Regions from separate parts of the Homo sapiens genome. Here regions 1, 2, 3, 5 and 6 are each linked to region 4. The links are contacts of gene promoters, found by promoter capture Hi-C in blood cells and fetal thymus (Javierre and others, 2016). All regions are on one chromosome and are shown on one strand. The core of a region is centred on a gene start or on the middle of the fragment in contact, and the rest is flanking DNA. Distances in the headings are between cores, read along the strand shown. Region 1 holds the start of TTLL7 (tubulin tyrosine ligase like 7). Region 2 has its middle 2.5 kb from the start of SSX2IP. Region 3 has its middle 64 kb from the start of SSX2IP. Region 4 holds the start of SAMD13 (sterile alpha motif domain containing 13). Region 5 has its middle 84 kb from the start of SSX2IP. Region 6 overlaps TTLL7 (tubulin tyrosine ligase like 7).

The links. The method cuts DNA at HindIII sites, captures the fragments that hold promoters and counts their contacts. A CHiCAGO score of 5 or more calls a contact.
Region 1: a contact is called between the fragment with the promoter of TTLL7 here and the fragment with the promoter of SAMD13 in region 4, in 1 of 17 cell types (erythroblasts). The highest score is 5.3, in erythroblasts.
Region 2: a contact is called between a fragment that was not itself captured here and the fragment with the promoter of SAMD13 in region 4, in 1 of 17 cell types (fetal thymus). The highest score is 6.3, in fetal thymus.
Region 3: a fragment that was not itself captured here is called in contact with the fragment with the promoter of SAMD13 in region 4 in 7 of 17 cell types (fetal thymus, M1 macrophages, M2 macrophages and 4 more); the score reaches 9.4 in fetal thymus.
Region 5: a fragment that was not itself captured here is called in contact with the fragment with the promoter of SAMD13 in region 4 in 4 of 17 cell types (fetal thymus, M2 macrophages, M0 macrophages and 1 more); the score reaches 7.5 in fetal thymus.
Region 6: a fragment that was not itself captured here is called in contact with the fragment with the promoter of SAMD13 in region 4 in 1 of 17 cell types (erythroblasts); the score reaches 6.9 in erythroblasts.

Annotation. Positions count from the first base shown.
Region 1 is chr1:83,997,766-84,000,950 of GRCh38, reverse strand. It overlaps TTLL7 (tubulin tyrosine ligase like 7), which reads left to right and starts at 1,819. Exons shown (of 21, transcript NM_024686.6): 1 at 1,819-2,020. It overlaps LOC124904205 (a long non-coding RNA gene), which reads right to left and starts at 1,663. Exons shown (of 2, transcript XR_007066195.1): 1 at 1,245-1,663. RefSeq lists silencers at 1,920-2,019, 2,030-2,159. The HindIII fragment of the contact is 3,041 bases long and covers 1-3,030 here.
Region 2 is chr1:84,691,456-84,694,467 of GRCh38, reverse strand. No RefSeq gene overlaps it. Among named protein-coding and RNA genes, the nearest start is that of SSX2IP, 2.5 kb to the right of the region's middle. The HindIII fragment of the contact is 288 bases long and covers 1,216-1,503 here.
Region 3 is chr1:84,753,389-84,756,242 of GRCh38, reverse strand. No RefSeq gene overlaps it. Among named protein-coding and RNA genes, the nearest start is that of SSX2IP, 64 kb to the right of the region's middle. RefSeq lists a silencer at 2,549-2,598. The HindIII fragment of the contact is 1,543 bases long and covers 647-2,189 here.
Region 4 is chr1:84,300,443-84,303,728 of GRCh38, reverse strand. SAMD13 (sterile alpha motif domain containing 13) reads right to left here and starts at 2,021. Exons shown (of 4, transcript NM_001134663.2): 1 at 1,928-2,021; 2 at 442-526. The coding sequence starts at 494. The HindIII fragment of the contact is 6,789 bases long and covers 1,016-3,286 here.
Region 5 is chr1:84,772,512-84,775,486 of GRCh38, reverse strand. No RefSeq gene overlaps it. Among named protein-coding and RNA genes, the nearest start is that of SSX2IP, 84 kb to the right of the region's middle. RefSeq lists an enhancer at 128-627. The HindIII fragment of the contact is 3,509 bases long and covers 1-2,975 here.
Region 6 is chr1:83,917,328-83,920,587 of GRCh38, reverse strand. TTLL7 (tubulin tyrosine ligase like 7) reads left to right here. Exons shown (of 21, transcript NM_024686.6): 13 at 754-889; 14 at 2,898-2,984. Among named protein-coding and RNA genes, the nearest start is that of LINC01725, 58 kb to the right of the region's middle. The HindIII fragment of the contact is 834 bases long and covers 1,013-1,846 here.

The DNA of each region.
Region 1 (3,185 bases), core at 570-3,069, 300 kb after region 4:
ACGTTAAGTGTTGCTAATACCTCTGTTACTTAACATTTTTTTTGATAAGGTATATGAGGACCCATGATAATAGGTTTATTGAAAAATTCTTGCCCCTTCCTAGGAATGGAAGAATGATAACATGTAATGTAGTAATAGTGCATGCATAGTGTAAAGTGTAATACAGTGAAAATAATGATGTAAAGATGATTAACAAGAAGGCAGTGGAGAATTCCTCTTCAACCTCATGTGACCTTGACAGTGTATTGTGACGCTGATGTTCGGCTAGTTCTGGGTGAAGTCCAGCTTCTTCTTTCTGATCACTCTTCTTGCCTCAGGGTGATGCCTACCCTGGACACCTAACTGCCCCCTCTCCATTCTAAAACCCCTTCTCACAAAGGAAGGATAAACAGACTCACATTCAAGTTGCAATCACAGATGTGACACGGTTTAATGTATATCGTTCTCAGAGGCATTCTAGGGGAAAGGAACAAGTCAAAAACTCCAGGTGGCAATGTCTGCTCTGCCGCTTATGATCGTGAGACTAACCCAGCACGACAAACCCTGAGCCCAGTTTCTCACCAGTGTCCTTTATGAGAAGATGCCCTCACTGACCAGATCAGTTCCCAATGCTGGCAAGGCTGTATGGAGGTCTATTGCAGGTTACCAATCTCACAGGAGTTTTTAGAAGAATAAATGAAGAAATGAAAATGAGACTATTCTCAGCACAGTGGTCTATAGAAAGTGCTGAATTTATGTTGATTTACTCAACGAAGGACAAAACTTTAAATTGTGAAATTTTATATTTTTTGGGATGCACTTGGAGGGCCTTTTTTTTTCCTACCTTTAATCACATTTTATAGGTAGTTGCCAATTCTGTTCTATCTTTTCTTTTTTTCTACAGGGAAAACTGTACACTTGTCCTGATCTTCACCATGCTCTGAAATGAACCTGTGTGAACCCAGCGTGACAGAAGCAGGGACCACAAAAGTCTAAGGAATTCATGTGTTAGGACTTCTTCCAGTTCTATACAATTCATTTTATGAGAAGACATGATTGCCTTCCCGTTTTCAAGACACGCAACTCTAAAATGGTGAACAATGAACCTCGAATATTCTTTAATTTCTGCAACAATCTTCTGTAAATCTTTATCTCGAAATGGCTTCCTAAATCTACATTTTTTTACAACTGCCGTGGTTCAACATTTGCTTAGCAGGAACTCTAGGTCAGAGCTGTCCCTCAGCATCTACGGGATGGGGCCCCACCTGATTTTATTTCCTAACTTTCGAGCTGGCCTCAGATACCCGTTTATTCTTTGCTTCACAAAGATGCTTAGATAAAAGATCTGAAGACTCTCTTCAAAGATTCAAAAAGCTCCACTGTTTTGTGGGAAGATGTCTGTGGTCAGATAGGCAGGTGGATCGGGCGCCTAGGGCCCGGAGGTAGAAGGAGGTGGCCGGAGGCGCTCAGGCCAGCGCCTCTCGCATCTCTGAGGAGGGGCGCCGCCCAGGCGCTCGCGTTGCTAAGTCCTCTGTTTGCCGCGTTCTAAAGGAGCCCCGAGCGGGACCAAGGCAAACGGGGGGGGGGTGTGTGTGGCCCGGGAAAGCTCGAGCAGTGTCTTCAGTAAACCCCCAGAAGAGGCAGCGGCCCCTCCGTTGATCCCTCCTGTCCCCAGGACCTCCTGACTCCGAGGGGGCAGAGGATTCCCCGAGTCCTTTGTTCCTCCCAACCGTCGCCGCCCCCGGCGCCCGCGCCTCTCGGCACGTCGTGCACCCCCGGCCGCAGCAGGCGAATGGTCTGGCCCGTCGGTAGCCGCCACCCGCTTGGGCAGCGACAGCTGTTCCAGGCACTCCGCGTCGAGCACCGGAGTCCCGAGCCGTGGCTGCCACGGGCGGTGGGCGGGCGGAGGAGAGCACCGGACCACCAGTGCAGGCTGCCGAGTCGGGGCGGCCGCCCACGGGGAAGCTGCGAGGCGCGGGAGCACCTGGGGGACCGCTTGCAGCGGGGACGCGAGGACCCGGGCTGGGCTTTCCTCACCCGGGTGAGTACCTGCTGCCGCCATCCTCCCCCGACCCCCTTCCATGTCCCCACGTCCCCAAAGGCTCCGCCCTGGCCCTCTTTCCGGGCCCCCATCCCCGGACTGTCACTGCTCTGGGGACACCGTCCCCGCTGGGAGCCGCGGAACGGGGAGCTGCTGCGTTCGTGCAAATGATTCAGCACCATTCGTGCCCTGAGAGGTTTGGGCAGAATGGGGGAGGGAGAGGGCGGAGGGGACGGGGTCAGTTGCTGTGATCTCAGCTCAGTTTTTAGGCTCCAGATGGGAGACTCGGGCGGGCGGGGTCGGGTTGGGTGAACGAGGAGGCTCCCTGCTGGTTTATTCTGTAATTCCGTCGTTTTCCCACATCGTGGTATAAGCCTCCGCGAGTATGCGGGGCATTCTTGAAAGGGTATCAAAATGCCCTTTTCGCACATGCGAGTGAAGTCTAGGGCCCTTGTAGGTACCTCTCACTTTCTCCACATCTTGCTCTGTTGGATGCCTGACTCATGCCATCATCCACTTATATCACATCGCAGCGTTCCCTCGACTGATGTAAAAGATACCCTATGAAAGTTGCCTTGTATTCTGGGTGGGTTTGATTGATCCTGGCATAGAAAGAAAAGATTTAGGAGAGGTAGGAAATAATACCTTCATAGCCTAGGCACTTACTTTTATATATCGTATTTTATTAAATCATCATAATCCAGAACCAAATGTGGAAACTGAGGAGCAGGGAAGTTAAATTACATTCTCAAGGTCACAGAACAGGAATTCGAATATAGGTTTTCCTGACTCTATAGTCCATGGATTTTCCACTGTATTAATGGAGTGTGTCCAAGTGTACATATATATGCTCTATTAGATATTAAACATAGAATTAATTAATTGAGGAGTAATCTCAAACAACAGCAACAACAACCTGTAAACTTTCTGCATAAGGAATTATTGCTCCTTCAATATGAAAGAAAGATGCTTTGAATCATGTGAAAAATAATCTATTTTCTTAGAAAGCTTATGGCAAAAAATATGTGAACAACACTACATAGGAGAGTGAGGTCATAACAGGAGATGTTCAGCACATTTTTGGCAGTGATATTTGGTGGATGCTCAAGTGTTGGAGAAGTCGATTAAAAACGTAAGAAGAACTCTGGAAATCTTTTTCTGTCTT
Region 2 (3,012 bases), core at 110-2,609, 390 kb before region 4:
CAATTCAGTCACATCTTCAGGCTCCACTTCTAGTTCTAGTTTTATTGCTATGTCTACCACATCTCCAGTTACTTCTTCCACTGAAGTCTTGAACGCCTCAAAGTCATATATGAGGGTTTTAATCAACTTCTTCCAAACTCCTCTTAATGTTGATATATTTTGACCTCCTTCCGTGCCCATGAATGTTCTCAATGGCATCTAGAATGGTGAATCCTTTCCAGGTTTTCAATTTACTTTGCCCAGTTCCATCAGAGGAATCACTATCTATGGAAGATACAGCCTTATGAAATGTATTTCTCAAATAAGACTTAAAAGCCAAAATTACTCCTTTATCCATGGGCTGCAGAATAGATCTTGTGTTAGCAGGCAAAGCTCTTGGGTAACCAGGTGCATTATTAATGAGCAGTGAGATTTTGAAAGTAATCTTTTTTTCTGAGTCATAGGTCTCAACAGTGGACTTAAAATATTCACTAACCATGCTGTGAACAGATGTGCTGTCAGCCAGGCCTTGTTGTTCCATTGATAGAACACAGGCAAAGTCAATTTAGATATTTCTTAAGGGCCCTAGGATCTTTGGAATGGCAAATGAGCATTACCTCCAACTTAAAGTCAGTAGCTGGAGCCGGGCATAGTGGCTTACAGCACTTTGGGAGGCTGAGGGAGGTGGAGCATTTGAGCTCAGGAGTTTGAGACCAGCCTGGGCAACATGGTAAAACCCTGTCTCTACAAAAAATACAAAAATTAGCTGGGCATGGTGGTGTGTGCCTGTAGCCCCAGCTACTTGGGAGGCTAAGGTGGGAGGATTGCTTGAGGATCACTTGAGGCTGCAGTGAGCCGTGATCGCACCACTGCACTTCAGCCTGAGCAACACATTGAGACCCTGTGTCAAAAAATAAAAAATAAAAATAAAAAGTCAGCAGTTGCATTAGCCCCTAACAAGAGTCAGCCTGTCCTTTGAAGCCAGGCAGGGACTTCTCCTCTTTAGCTAGAAAAGTTCTATGTGGCATATTCTTCTAATAGAAGGCTTTCTTTTGGTCTACACTGAAAATCTGTTTAGTGTAGCCACCTTCATCAATCAGATCTTCTAGATAAATTGCTGCAGCTTCTACAGCGGCACTTGCTGCTTCACTTGGCACTTTCATGTGACGGAGATGGCTTCTTTCCTTAAACCTCATGAACCAAACTCTGCTAGCCTCAAACTTTTTAAATGAAGCTTCCTCATTTCTCTCAGCCTTCATAGAAATGAAGAATTAGGGCCTTGCTCTGGATAGGCTTTTGCTTAAAGGAATGCTGTGGCTGGTTTGATCTCTTATCCAGACCACTCAAACTTTCTACTTATCAGCAATAAGGCAGTTTCACTTTCTTTTCATGCCTGTGTTCAAGGGAGGAGGACTTTTAATTTCCTTCAAGAACTTTTTCTGTGCATTTATAACTTGGCTAACTGGAACAATAGGTCTAGCTTTCTGCCTATCTCAGCTTTCAAGATGCCTTCCTCACTAAGCTTAATCATTTCTAGCGTTTGATTTAAAGTGAGAGATATGTGACTCTTCCCTTCATTTGAACACTTAGAGGCCATTGTAGGGTTATTTATTGGCCTAATTTTAATATTGCTGTGTCTTAGGGAGTAGGGAGGCCCAAGGAGAGGGAGAGAGATGATCAGCCAGTCAGTGGAGCAGTCAACATATACATTGAATTGGCTGTCTTATAAGGGTGCAGTTTGCGGCACCCCCAAAATAATACAATAGTGACATCACAGATCACCGTAACATATTTAATGGAAAAGTCTGAAATATTTCAAAAATTACCGAAATGTGACAGAGACACCAAGTGAACACATGCTCTTAGAAAAAATGGTGCCACTAGACTTGCTCAATGCAGGGTTGAGCAACAAACCTTTATTAAAAAAAAATACAGTGCCTGTAAAGTGCAATAAATTGAAGTATAAAACGAGGTACGCATGTATTTTTCTTGCTTTTCTCTCGTGGTTGCAGAATATGCTGCCACAGCTCCAAACATGTCTGGCTTACTGGAGGATGTCCAAGGCAAGAAGGAAAAAACTTGTCCTTAGTCTGTCAGGATAAAATCCTTCCCCTGAAGCTCCTCATCCCCCACTCCCCATTATGGACTGAGCAGAATTAGGTCATATTTTTAGCCCCTTAACCAGTTATTGGTTAACAAAGAGGGACAGAGTACAAAGAGGTTTAGACCAGTGGTTTTCAAAGATCTGCTGAACCTTGGGGCGGCAAGTTTCCAAGACCCTTCCAGGGAGTCTGCAAAGTCAAAACTATTTTTGTTATAATACTAAGATATTATTTGCCTTTTTCCCTCTCATTATGAGTGCACAGTAGAGTTTTCCAGACGCTACCTGAAATAGCACAACAGATCGAATGCACAAACAGATATGAAAATCCAAATGCCTTCTATTAAGCAAGACATTAAAGATATGGGCAAAATTTTAAAGTAACACCATTCTTTTAACTAATTTTTTGAAAATAGTTATTTTTAATTAAAATGCGCTATTTGACATTTTTATTTTTATTCATTATTATTTTAAAAAATAGCAATTTTTAAATTTCTGTTTTAATATTAATAGCTGTAACCAACATAAAGAAAAGTTCTTGGGGCTCTCAATAATTTTACAAGTGGAAAGCGGTCTTGAGACCAAAAGATTGAGACCGCTGGTTTATTCAGGCAGATCTTATTCCTTTCCCGGGGTTGCTGAGGTCAGAGCTAAACTTCCCAGAGCTCAACTAAGCTTGGTTCAAACCTTTTAAAAATGTAACTGTTAATGGTAACGCCACCTGGGCTCAACAGCAGCTAGACGGGCCTCTGATTGCTTGGCCAAAGGAAAAGAGGAGGATTTCGTTGGGCCCTGAAGTTGTCACCGTGGCGTGCTTCTTCTGGCCCTGATCTTTCATCCAGGATTGGGGATACGTGCATGCAAACTGGGAGGTGGACATTCCTCCCGCTCTTGTTTTTCAGTGTTAGCATCTTCACTCATACTGTTTTGGT
Region 3 (2,854 bases), core at 169-2,668, 450 kb before region 4:
TCGTTCAGATGTTGGGAGGTAACAGTGAGCTTTAACTAATTACACCTCAAATCACCCCCAGGAGGTAGGTAATGATTATAGATGTACTTGGCTGAGGTAACTCAGAATGTCTTAATAATCACTTAATAGAATCTTATCATGAGAAGCAAATTGCATTAAATAGGCAAATGAAGTTGACGGTGAGAAGCAGAGTTAGGAAATAAAATGCTATGGGGGGTTTTATATGGGAAAAATCCAATTAACACCTTTTTAAAAGAGTTGGCCCCATGGCTTTTTTCATATCGCTCACAGTACCTATCACAGGGTTATGCCCTGAATAAACACTTTCTCAATCGATGCTAAAGAAATTATAGGTAAAAATGAAGGAGGAAGTGGGAGGTGCACCTAGAAGCCAACATTACAATTCTACTTAGAAGCAAATGGCAAAATAATTTCATTGTGAAGCTACTGTGCAAGCTTTGCAACGATGGTCCATTTCTTCCTTATTCTCGAGGAAAATGACCATCGTCATGTAATAAACACAAAACGCCAACCAGATAGATTGCATACGTACACATGAATGTGCTCTGGACTTAACCAAATTTGTGAAACCCTAGGGCTGGAAGAGCCAAGCCCAAGTGTTAAGGCAGCAAGATGACAAGAAGCTTGGCCAAAAGAGTTTGCGGGTGGAAGACACACTAGGAATTTTGTGTCCCACCCAAAGATAAGGAGACATCATGGAAGCTGCTGGAGACTTTTGTGACAGTGGGTGGGGTAAAAGAAGGGGTGGATTTTCCTCGGGTGAAATGATTTTGGGAGCATGTGGTCACTGTCAAAGCTGTGCTTTTCAAGAAAACCAAAGGGCGGCAGGAATGAAGAAAATCCAGACAGCCCATTCGCGATGCACAGATCCAACAGGCAGAGCCCAGGGGATGAGGTGTAGGGAGGCCAGCGGAAGGTGCTGCGGGGGTGGGAGGAGGTCAGATTCTGGGACAGGCCAAAGCGGTACAGACCAAAAAGTTGTGTGCCTGAGACTCAAACTGGACCAAAGTCGAAAGAACAGTCAAGACTGCACTCCAGAAATAGCACGAGATAATTGCATCATTAAGTGGAATTTTACGCCTAAATTGTATACATGTATGTGTACAGATGTATATATACACATATATTTATAAATGTGTATGTGTATTTCACACACACACACGACTTTCACTTTCATACTTTCACAGTTCCCTGTCATATGACCTTTTTTCTTACATAAGGGACATGCATCTGATTAAACAATGAACACATATTTATTATTTTTTAAAAATAAAATGAGCGGGGTGCGGAGTGGAGTGGAAGCACATGCCGCTAGCAAAATGGGCACCGGGGCTTCGGTCTTCGCTGAGAGAAATTGTCTCCATTTTCATATGAAGGACAAGATGGACCCTAAAGCAAATAATAATGTTTAGGAGAGCGCTGGGATCTATTTTTTCTCGCAATGTAAAGAAATTTTACCCCAGCTTTCCTCCTGGGTTAGCTCTATCAATATTAGGAGCCTTTCTGCAACCATGGTTTGTCTGCACTTCCTTTACTTAACACCTCCATTTGCTGCCATTTGCCTACCGCGGCGATGGTGTCGGGCATTGGCAGCGTCACTAAATCACCCTCATTTCCCGGCCCTATGACTGAAGCGGGCCCGGGCCATTATCGCCTAATGGCGTGTTCTGCTGCTGCGGCTCTTCTCAAATCCGCGATGGACAGGCCTCAGGATGCATTTTAGCGTCATTGTAATTGAGCGCGGAACGCTCTGGCTTTTTTAGACCTGTTTTCCGGTCTTGTAGGGGGTGACCGACGAGAGATAGCAAGCAGGTGCGATGGGCAGTGGGGGGGTCACCTTTTCACACCGAGGACAGCAGCAGCAAAGAACGATTCGCTGGGGGACGGAGGAAATGAGAAGCTAGGGCAGGCTTTTCAGCATCACCTAAAGACTTGAGTTGTCAAATGCAGCGTCCCTGCCAGCGCTGATTCTGCCCAGAGCGGCTCTGCTAACCTAATGGGTTTCCAAAATCTCCTCTGAGTGCTCAGATGTGAATCACCGACTTCCAGAATGCATGCTGTCTCTCAGCGGCACAGATTCCTGCTGGCCCCCTGGGGAATTTTAATAACATGTCATTTAACAAATTAGAAGGTGAAGCAAATTAAATACAGTAAATCAAAGCAAAGCTTGAAAAACAAAGTAGAATCAAGCAGGCCTTTTCAAAGCATGCAGATTTGAAAAATGTAAGGTTTCCAAATGGTTAGCAAAAAAGGGAAAAGTTACCATAGCAACTCCTAAAGTCTGTCTAGCTAGTGGCCACATGCTTTCAAGTGTCCTACTCTATAGTGGGAGATATTTGAGGGCAGTTTCTAGATTTTTTTTAAATTAAGGAAATGAATAAACAAGCTTAATGGATTAGTATCCACATTAAATTACAAGCATCAGCCTTCCAAGGCCTGAGATTTCTGGCAAGGAACAGCTGCTGTGGGTAATGCGGACTGGCCACTTGGTGTCGCTGTTGTTCCGCTGCTGGGTTCTGCAGCGCTGTCCCCCGCTGGTGAGATGTCCTCCCTTTCAAGTAGATGCTTTCTGTGAGCCGCCCTAACATGCATTTATTCAAAATGTATTTATAGTGTCTGCCATGTGCCAGAAACCATGCGAGTCTCTGGGGATAGGCTGGTGAACAGTTTGTGGAGTTCACAGTCTAGCAAGAGAGACAACCAAACAAATGAAATAATTACACTTTGTGATTAGGTCTATGAAGGAAAAGATCAGACTCCTAGGATGGAGACTAAGGTGGGCAACAGCTTTTTTGCAAAGTCGTCAGAGAAGACCTGTCTGATGACTTATTAG
Region 4 (3,286 bases), core at 772-3,271:
TAAACTATATTCTTACTGAAGCTTTTTCCCTTCCTGCACTATAGCTCTTAGTTTTCAGAGTTAGAGGTGATTGTATTTCAAAAAAAAAATTTGAACTCTATTTTCTGCCCCCATTCTGTGTTGTCTATGGAAGAGTCTCTGCTTGGAGTTTTTGTTTCAATATACAGAATGCAGGGCTGAAATCCTCAACCATCCTTGTTCCAAAGCCTGATACACAAACCTTTCATATATATTTTGATGTCTGAGTCATCTCTGTCTTAGAAATGCAATACAGAAAAAGGTAACTGGGGTAGGGGGGAGAAGGGAGGCTGCTGGCCAGTGTAGACAAACCAAGGCGACCCCCAAACTGTGTATTGTAGTAGATAAGCAAGAAGTACGAAAATAGAAACTAAGTCCCTCTGTTGTTTGCAGAAGCAGAACTCAGAAGCCAGCTTCACTTACTTTTTTACACCGACAGAGCCATTTTCCTTGTTTTCCATGTCAACAGATAGCATGGGAAGGCTGCAGGGTTCCTTTACTTCAGCAACTAATCAATAAGGGAGAAAAGCTTGTGTTTAATTCTTAGAAAGTGAGAGAAGAATATATATTCTGAATCGGAAACATAATGGTCCCTTTTACAGCTTCACACCAGTTCACGTATGTTTGTTTAAATCTCCAGTTCCCTCGGCGATTGGAGAGATGTGATTAAACCTAAAGAACTGGAGGAGACGGATTGGGGTGCTTTCATCTGTACTGGCACTCCCTGCCTTGACAATAAGCATTTGCAAATGAAATTGAATCCTCGTTGAAAACAAGTGCTGTGTGAACTGGCACAGCTTCTTCTGGGTGCCTAGCTCTCACTTAAGACACTGCAACTCATAAATGAGTCAAAGTAGAGAAAAACAATCCCCCTTTTCCTGCCCCCCTCCCATTATGGGCTTTGATTTGTTTTTTCTTATTGTGTTTGGTTTTTTTTTTGTCCACTCCCCCTTGCTCCTAGATTTTTTCATTGCAATGCAGAAGGACACTTAAAGCTTTTGTCAGCAAGTATTCCCCTACCTCACATTCTCAACGAAAGCCTCAAAAACCCGTCTGTGAGATGGCCATGCTGTGGTAAAGCAGGAAGCTCACAAAAAATGCCAGATAGCCCTTAGCACAGAAAGGTGGTGCTGGTGTGTGTGTGTGTGTGTGTGTGTGTGTGTGTGTGTATGTGTAAGAAAGAGTAGGTAACTCATTAGATTTATGAAAAATCATCAAAACATTTAAGGAGATATTGTAGCATCCATCACTCTGTCTTTTTGTTTAGTAGGATGAGGGCTGTGGAAAATTAAAAGCCTTCCACAATTAATATGCAATTAGCAAAATGAAAAAGCTACGAACAAAACTGCTTTAAGAAAAAAAAAAAAAAAAAAGGAAGAAACAGTCCCGAAACGTGTTTGCTCTTATTCAGCTGAAGCCATAAATTAAATACATTTCCACTCAAATCACTTTATACTTCGGCACTCCTTCTCTAGGGATTACTCTGACATGGCAAGTGCATCATTTAGTATATTCGCAAGATTTTATCACTGTTAGAGAAGTAGATGATTAACAAATAACACTGTAAGTGTGGGATAATTTTCACTCCTGAAACACACACATACACACAAACTTCCAGCTGCAAACCACTTAGATCATTGATAGAGAAATCCAACATTTAATATATATATATAGATATTAGCATACATTCACACACCGTTAGAGAGTAGACAGGAAGATAGTGCTGCTGCTCCATGCTAACAGAATATGATTTCACTTCAGTTGGAAACTGTTACACATTCACCATTTTCTAAGCATCTCAGAAAACAAAACAAAACACTCACAATGATACTCTGCAACACCACACTACATTGTCTTATTATTATTACTATTATTTTCTTTTCTGTGGAAGAGTAAAAAGAAAACCTACCTATAAGCAACTAAAAAATATCATTTTTTATAGGCTTATCAAGAACAGCCAAAGAAACCCCAATGTTTTCTTTCACAAAGTAGGCTGGCAAAGGAATTCAATAAGGAGGTACAATTTGACACAGTGAAATAAAACCAGGCTGGCTCTCAGCCAACATGACGTTAGGAATCACACACAAGCTGCACCAACTGCCTTCTGGTTCATGGCTGACTTTTTAAAGCTACAGTGTGCCTGTTCACTTTTGCTAACTACCTTCAGCACAATTAGTGCAAGAAATGAGTAAGGAGTCCAAAACCTGCAGAATTCTCCCTGCACCTGTCTTGTACAAAGAAAAACAAGCTGTCTCAATAGCTTCTTATTTTCTCCCTCCCCTTCATTGTTGCTGCATGATAGGTCTTAGCTGTTGTTCTGAGCATGAATGTCATGTTTCAAACTATTTCCTTTTCTCCCCAGAGGGAAAAATAAGAGTGAGAAGCCAGTGCTTATGGGCTATAACCAGAGAACACTCGGAAGCTGCAGTCCCATGTTACTCTTTTTTTCCTAATAGAGATTCATGGACAAAGTTCCCAGGGCTGGCTTTTAAGTAATCTCTTTGTGAGAATAAGGAAAGCACTGCCCAGCAGCAAATCCTTTTACTTCATTATGCAGGAAGTAACATATTTCGGAAAGGATGCAAAATAGATGACCAGATCTCCTGAAAACGCCCACATTCTTTTATTTTGGCATTTATCCTGCCAAATGAAGCCAGCAAAAATTCAAACTGAAACAAACAAAACCTTATTCTACAAAACGAAAACAATTAGTTCTGGGAGGTTTAATTTTAACTGTTTATCCCAGTTGGACAAAAAGCATAATTCAAGAAATTTAACCAACACTTACAATCTATGAGTACCCGGTACTATATTAGTTACATATGAATAGAAAGACATTATGCCCACCCCAAAATTCATAGTCTCTCCCGCCATCATCCTAAATACCAAATCAGAAAACTGGGAGGTGGAGCAGAGAGGCTGGGCAAGATCTTTTGTTTAAGTTACCCTGGTCATTCTCACAGTTCCCTTGCTTGGCTTAAACCACTTTTCCAGGAGAATAATCTCATCCCATTAATGTTCTGCACATACACAGAAAACATACATGGTTGCCTCTTCATTGAAATAAACATCAATCAACATTTGGACACTTTTAGGTCAAGATGGTCAACAAAACCACTCAAGACAGGGCACAGAACACAGGTTCCCCAGAAAGATCCTGGAAAAAGTTATCACTTGCTGTAATATCCTGTAGAATTCAGGTAGAATCTGAGGAAAAAGCTGCCTGCTTCCCTTTTTAAAAATAATCTTTTAGGACATTAGGAGATTA
Region 5 (2,975 bases), core at 31-2,530, 470 kb before region 4:
CTTCGTTAGCTCAAAGAGCCAGGTGGGAGCAGGGTGGACCCTGTGTGTGAACCAAGCATTTCTCCCGCTGAGAGGTGGCGCTATGGAGAGGATGGAAAGGGCTTGCCCTGAGGCACTGACTGGAAGGTGAACCGTGCTCCTCCGCTGCTCTGGGAATTGGCTTTGGTCATTCCTCACTCCTGAGTTGCCTGCCAGCCAAGGGAGGTGCATGTGTTGGGGGAGAAATCCCATCATCATCAACAGCCAGGCCCAGGCCTTTCCTGTGGAGGGTGTATAGCCTGCAGAGCTTAAGGAATTCCTCCCTAGCAGCAAGTCAACCACACCCCCTTTACCTGGGATTTTGGCAGCGTGGATGCTTTTTAAAAGGGCAGATTTTATTTCATTGCAAACAAAAGAGGCATTCAGGCTCCAGGGCACTCTCCTCCCTGGCAGCATCCTCCCAGGCCTGGTGAGAGCGCTCCCTGCAGACCCTCAGGGCAGGCCACACTGCCTCTCAGATGAAGGAGAGGAAGATGGATGGACCGCCACGGGCAAGCCTTCTCTGTGGGAACATAAAGCCCAGCATCTGCTTGGGGCAGAAGCCCCGGGGTGCCCCATGAGAAAGCCGTCAGGGCCCTTGGTGTGCAGTCAGGCAAGCTGATGGGCTGGGCAGCCGCTGCCAGTTAGGGAACACAGAATGCTCCTTCACAGTACAGCGAGTCCATCTGGGCAGGAGCCCTCCACAGCCGGCCTCTCTGGGAATGTGTCTTTGCCATTTGGAAGGCCAAGAGCCATCATCGTTCATTCAGACGCCTCCTGTGAGGCCAAGGAGGCTGGTCCATTGTTCCTGCCTCCCCATTCCCTCTGTCCTCCCACCCACAGCCTGGGGTGCACCTCTCCTCCTCACAGCTGCTGCCTGTGAGTTGTGCAAGGCAGACCTCTTAGAAGTCTCGCTTGGAACTGCCTAGAAGGAGATAGGCATGTTTTAATGGGAATGTAGGCATTTGGTGTGTTTACTGATGTTTCCTGGACAATCTCTTGTCAAAGGTTGAGCCTTTCTGTGTCTCAGAAAGGGAAAAACACATGTGTGGGTTTACACATTGCTGAGAGAGCAGGCAGAAAGCTGCTGCCAGACCATCAGTTTCATCCTCATCATCGGAAAGTATCTTCTAAGCACCTGATTGCCCATCACACCAAATAAAGAGGAAGTCTTGTGTGGGAGGCCACTGAATTGGAAGGGAGGAGGTGTGGATTCCTATCCCTGCTCTGCTTCTAAGCAGCTCTGTGCCTTTTCACTCGGCATGGCTTCCCTTGCTCCAATTCCACAGTGCTATCCCAGATACAGCCCTTCCCCTCTGCATTCCCCAGCCCCTGCCCACAGCAGACATGGCTAATCAATCATGTTCCCATGGCGCCTTACAGCATGGCCTCAGAGACATTAACACAGAGCTCCCGACAGCCACTGCTCACTGATTTGAAGGGCCCTCAAGATTAAACCTGTTTGCTATCACTTCCCTAAAGGAATTTATCACCTGGGAATGAAATTCTATACCAAAAACAGTCCAGGTCACTGGAAAACAAAAGGTTACAAATCAAGAAAGCAATAAGCCCACCTGAACAATCTGGACTGACCAGGTAAGTCATACTTTGGCAAAGACAGATATCCTCGCTTAATCATTTTACTGGGACAGATCCAAGGTTAGAGAAAGTGAAACATACCCTAAATCAGAAATGCCCTTTCTTTCACATATGGAGTTCTGGGAGGGAAGGTACCTTACTCCTGCCCTCTTCGCTTCCTAGATGGGGAGAGGGAGGCCTCAGTGGTTGTGACTTCCCAGGCCCCTCAGTTTGGTGGTGACCTTGTCAAACAAGAGTCCAGGATTTTTGGTCCCCAGCCCAGTGCTCCTTCTACCCACTGACACCCATTGTCTTGCTAGGCAAGGAAAAAACTCCACACTGCTATTTAAAGCACAGGCAATTAATGGTTTTCAATAGTGTTTGTGATGAAAATTAATGAACTATGAGCCAAAGGCCCCTCATTGAGATCATAAAAACAAATGACTAAACCCTGCGTGATTGGACAAGGGAGTCAGAGTTCCTTCATGTTATTGTAACTCCACCACTCCCTTTGGTTATGTGGGGAGTCACCGAACCTGTTTTCAAACCTTGGTTTTCTTGCCCGTACAATGGGCACCAACAGTGCTGCCTGTACTTGCCTCGCCAGGACATAGAAGCCAAAAGCAAACGACATGGAACTTCCAGATCCAGATTAACAGCAGTCACCATGAGCGGAGTGACATGATGTCTGCTATTAGGTAGTCAGCTGCAATTCTGGAATCACCGGCAACATTTGACAAATCCCAGGATATGTTGGGTAAGTGCTCCACAGCTCAGATGATTCCAACTCTAAGGGTCATGCAGGCTTCAGAAGTAGTTTTTATTTAGATAGGAGTGTCAGGGGAGGAACCTAGAAAGACCTTCCGTCGGATGAAGGATTTCTCCAAATCAGCAGTACACCTAAGGGGTCCCCTGCCTCTTTTTGCTTCAGGTATCTGGAGGAGGGTTCTGACAGCAGGGCTGAGGCCCAGGATGACAGTGCTGCATGCCTGCCTAATGACTGTTAACCAGGGAGCAGCTGAAAGCGTTAAGGATCAGTGTGTAACAGATCAGCATACAGAGAGAGTACCCCAAACACATCTCTTCTGGGTGGTATTTATCAGGGCACCTTGCTGGGTGTTCTTGACATCAGGAACCTGGCTTTGTAACCACATGCCCACCGCACTAAGGCCTTTGCCATAAGGAGTGGCAGTGTGTTCACACAGCATATCTTTCTAGGACATGTATTAAACATGTGTTCCTCCCAGGTCTGGCAGTTTGCCACAGTCCTGCAAAGGGCTGAAATGGCTTTGTTCTCTTGTTCCAGTTGAGGCGGGACCTGAACGCAGAAGGGAGAAAAAGGCCTCTGAGTCCACCACTAGGTGGCGCAAGAGCTCTAC
Region 6 (3,260 bases), core at 180-2,679, 380 kb after region 4:
CTTTCCAACTTTTGACATTGCCTGAGCAGGATAAAGGAATGTGTGAGGGCGTTCTTGCACTCATGGTAAGATGTTCTTTCATGGCCTTAACACCATCAACAGTAGTGATAAGAACACATTCCTCCCACTCTACCTCTACCCACTTCTCTCTACTAGAGAGGCAAATTCCACCACTACAAAAGAGATCATCAGAACCACTGCTTACATTTTTGTATACTTCAGTAACCACACTAAGTAAAAACACTCCTGCAGTATCCCTTATTACCTGAACACTCTCCTATAAAGTTCAGTATTTCTCCAATTTGCCCAATCACCATTCTTCCCCAACCATTTCCCCCCAACTAAACCCTTATACTGTACCTTCTGGAACTGCATTGTTTAATGCTAATTCTCTAGATAAACTTTGTTTGTGGATTTGTGCCACTATTAATGAATAGACTGAAAACCTTCATAAAGTTCTAAAAATACTCTTGTGCAATCATTAAAGTTTTGAAAGAATTTTATTAATTAGTGCCCAGTCAGCAAATACTCACATTAGAAAGTTACTAAGTGAATCTATTAGGCCAGTTATCAGTTTTCTGTCTGGAGGTTTAATATTTAATATCATTTTGCACTAATCAGTATAGAAATGCTTATACCTGGCAATGTGACTGGTATAGAATAGATGGTCAAGGATTGTCTATGGAGTTGATGTTAACTATTGAGCTACGACAGCTTCTTTTTAAAAAATTGGTTTATCTGATTTTGTTGTAGACGAATTTATCCTCCTGAAGATAAAGCATTACTTGAAAAGTATGAAAATTTGTTAGCTGTTGCCTTTCAGACCTTCCTTTCAGGAAGAGCAGCTTCATTCCAGCGAGAGTTGAATAATCCTTTGAAAAGGATGAAGGTAAGAGAATGAATGTTTATATAGAGAAAAAAGAATAAAGCTAAACAATATGTCTTTACAGACAAGCCACCTTGGTCCGACATATAAAAACATTTTACTTTTAAGATATGCTTTCCCCAAGCTTTCTATTTTAACAGTTGGTAACATTTCATGATGAACCAACTTACTTCATAAGATATCTACCAAGAAAAATTATGGAGTAGAGAATTGTGATATTATGTTGTAATATCAATATATTATAATAACGTATCTTCTTACATAGATGTGTATATGTAACTGGATAAAGAAACCCATGGAATTAACCTAGTGGTTTGTAGCGTTTTTATTTTTTGGATTATAACAAACATTACATAATACTTTTTCTTGATGCTATGTAGATCTAGCATATGAGAGGAAGTAAATGAAACACACACACACACACACACACACACACACACACTCTAATCTGTACACCATAGTAAAAGGTCTAGCAGTTTTCTATTATAGCATAACAAACCACTTCATTTATTTGCTCATTACTCTGCAATCGTGGCTGGGCACAGCTGAGTGGTTCTTCCGCTTGTCTTTCCTGGGGTGAATCATATAGTAGCATGTATCTGAATGCCCAACTGGGGCTAGAAATCCAGGGTAGCTTCACTCACATGTCTGGTGTGTCAGATAAGATAGCTGAAACATCTGGGAGCTGGCTGGTATCTCTTTCTCCCTACACAGTCTCTCAGCAGGGTAGTCAGACCTCTCAATATAGTAGCTCAGGATTCTAAAAGGGAGCATTTCAAGAAGATTCTTTTTATCCTAGTAGGAGCTCTCTATTTTAGACTTGATCTCTGCCTACATATGTCCAGACATGACAGATGACCCCAAAGAAGAAAATGGCCACTCATCTCTGCTCACCTAGGAAGAACTTGTTCCTCTTTGGAATTTAGTTTCTTTACATTACTTTTTACCTAAAGTAAAGCTTTCTGATGTTTTAGAAAATATGATTGTTTAGTTTATCTGGCCTTTTCTGGCTGTTATGATGAAAGTATTATCTGTTATATTTCTCCTAAACAGAAGCAGAACTCCTTGAGTTTCTTTTTGGCTATATTGTACTGCTATCCATGGAATTCATTGTAAGATTATTATTTAATAAAAAATGTATAATAAGAGTATTTTGGGATTTCAATAGCTAAATTTCCTTAGATTGGGACAAAGAGTAACTTACTTTACACATTTCTACTGCACAGTGAGATTTCTAGTTTCTTCAAAAACCTTTTCTAGAATCCTTTCTTAAATAACTAAATGATACAGTTGATTATACCTCTTTCAGTGTAGCTATTATACTCGTATTGTCCTGGCTTGCCTAATATCCACTGGGGTATATGCTTTTACAAAATTTCCTTTTGATTCAGAATATGACTCTAGTAGAACGCAGGAAAGGTGTTAGGGCACTTGTGGCTTTTTGCTACCTTTGATGACTATAGAATGAAAACCTTTATAAAGTTCTAAAAATACTTTGTGCAATCATTAAAATTTTGAAAGAGTTTCATTAAATAGTGCCCAGTCAGCAAATACTCACATTAGAATGTTTCTAAGTGAAACTGTTAGTCCAATTATCAGTTTTCTGTCTGGAGGTTTAATATCATTTTGCACTAATCTGTATAGAAATGATTCATAAACTTGAAATCTGGAAAACAGCATGAACTTTCCAGAAATTTTAGTGTCCAATGGGCTAATTTATTGAAGTATTATACTCTAAGATTTTAATACTATACTGTACTATAAAGATACATTTGTTTAGGATAATTAATACAGAATAGATTTTGGCTATGTATTAATTATAATGCCAGATTTTAGTGAAAGTTTCAAGAGAATTTGCTGTGACCCTTTAATATTTCTCCTTTTTTCTGAGCAATCTTCACTAAATAATTTCAGGAATCCTTGCTCTGCATTATTTTGTGGAGATTAATCAACTTGGAAAAATTCTAGAGTCCATTAGTGGTTGTAATTTTAATTAGAATATTTTTTGAAGGAAGAAGATATTTTGGATCTTCTGGAGCAATGTGAAATTGATGATGAAAAGTTGATGGGAAAAACTACCAAGACTCGAGGACCAAAGGTGCAGTATATCTCTACCTTCCTTACTTATCAAAGTAGATGCTACTAGCCCTTGATACTTCTCACTATAAGAAAGACTGGTGCTGCTTTAAAAAAGGAACCACAGGGACTGTGTGCCCAGTGCAGGTAAAGTTTGGAAGATGATGATACCTTACACTCAGGAGTTTGTTTTGTTTTATTAGTTTCATTCGTCATTTTGGTTATTTTCCTGATGACAGTGAAAAGACCATGAGTCAGGGCCAAAAGGGACCCAAGAGCTAGTACTCTTATTCTAAAC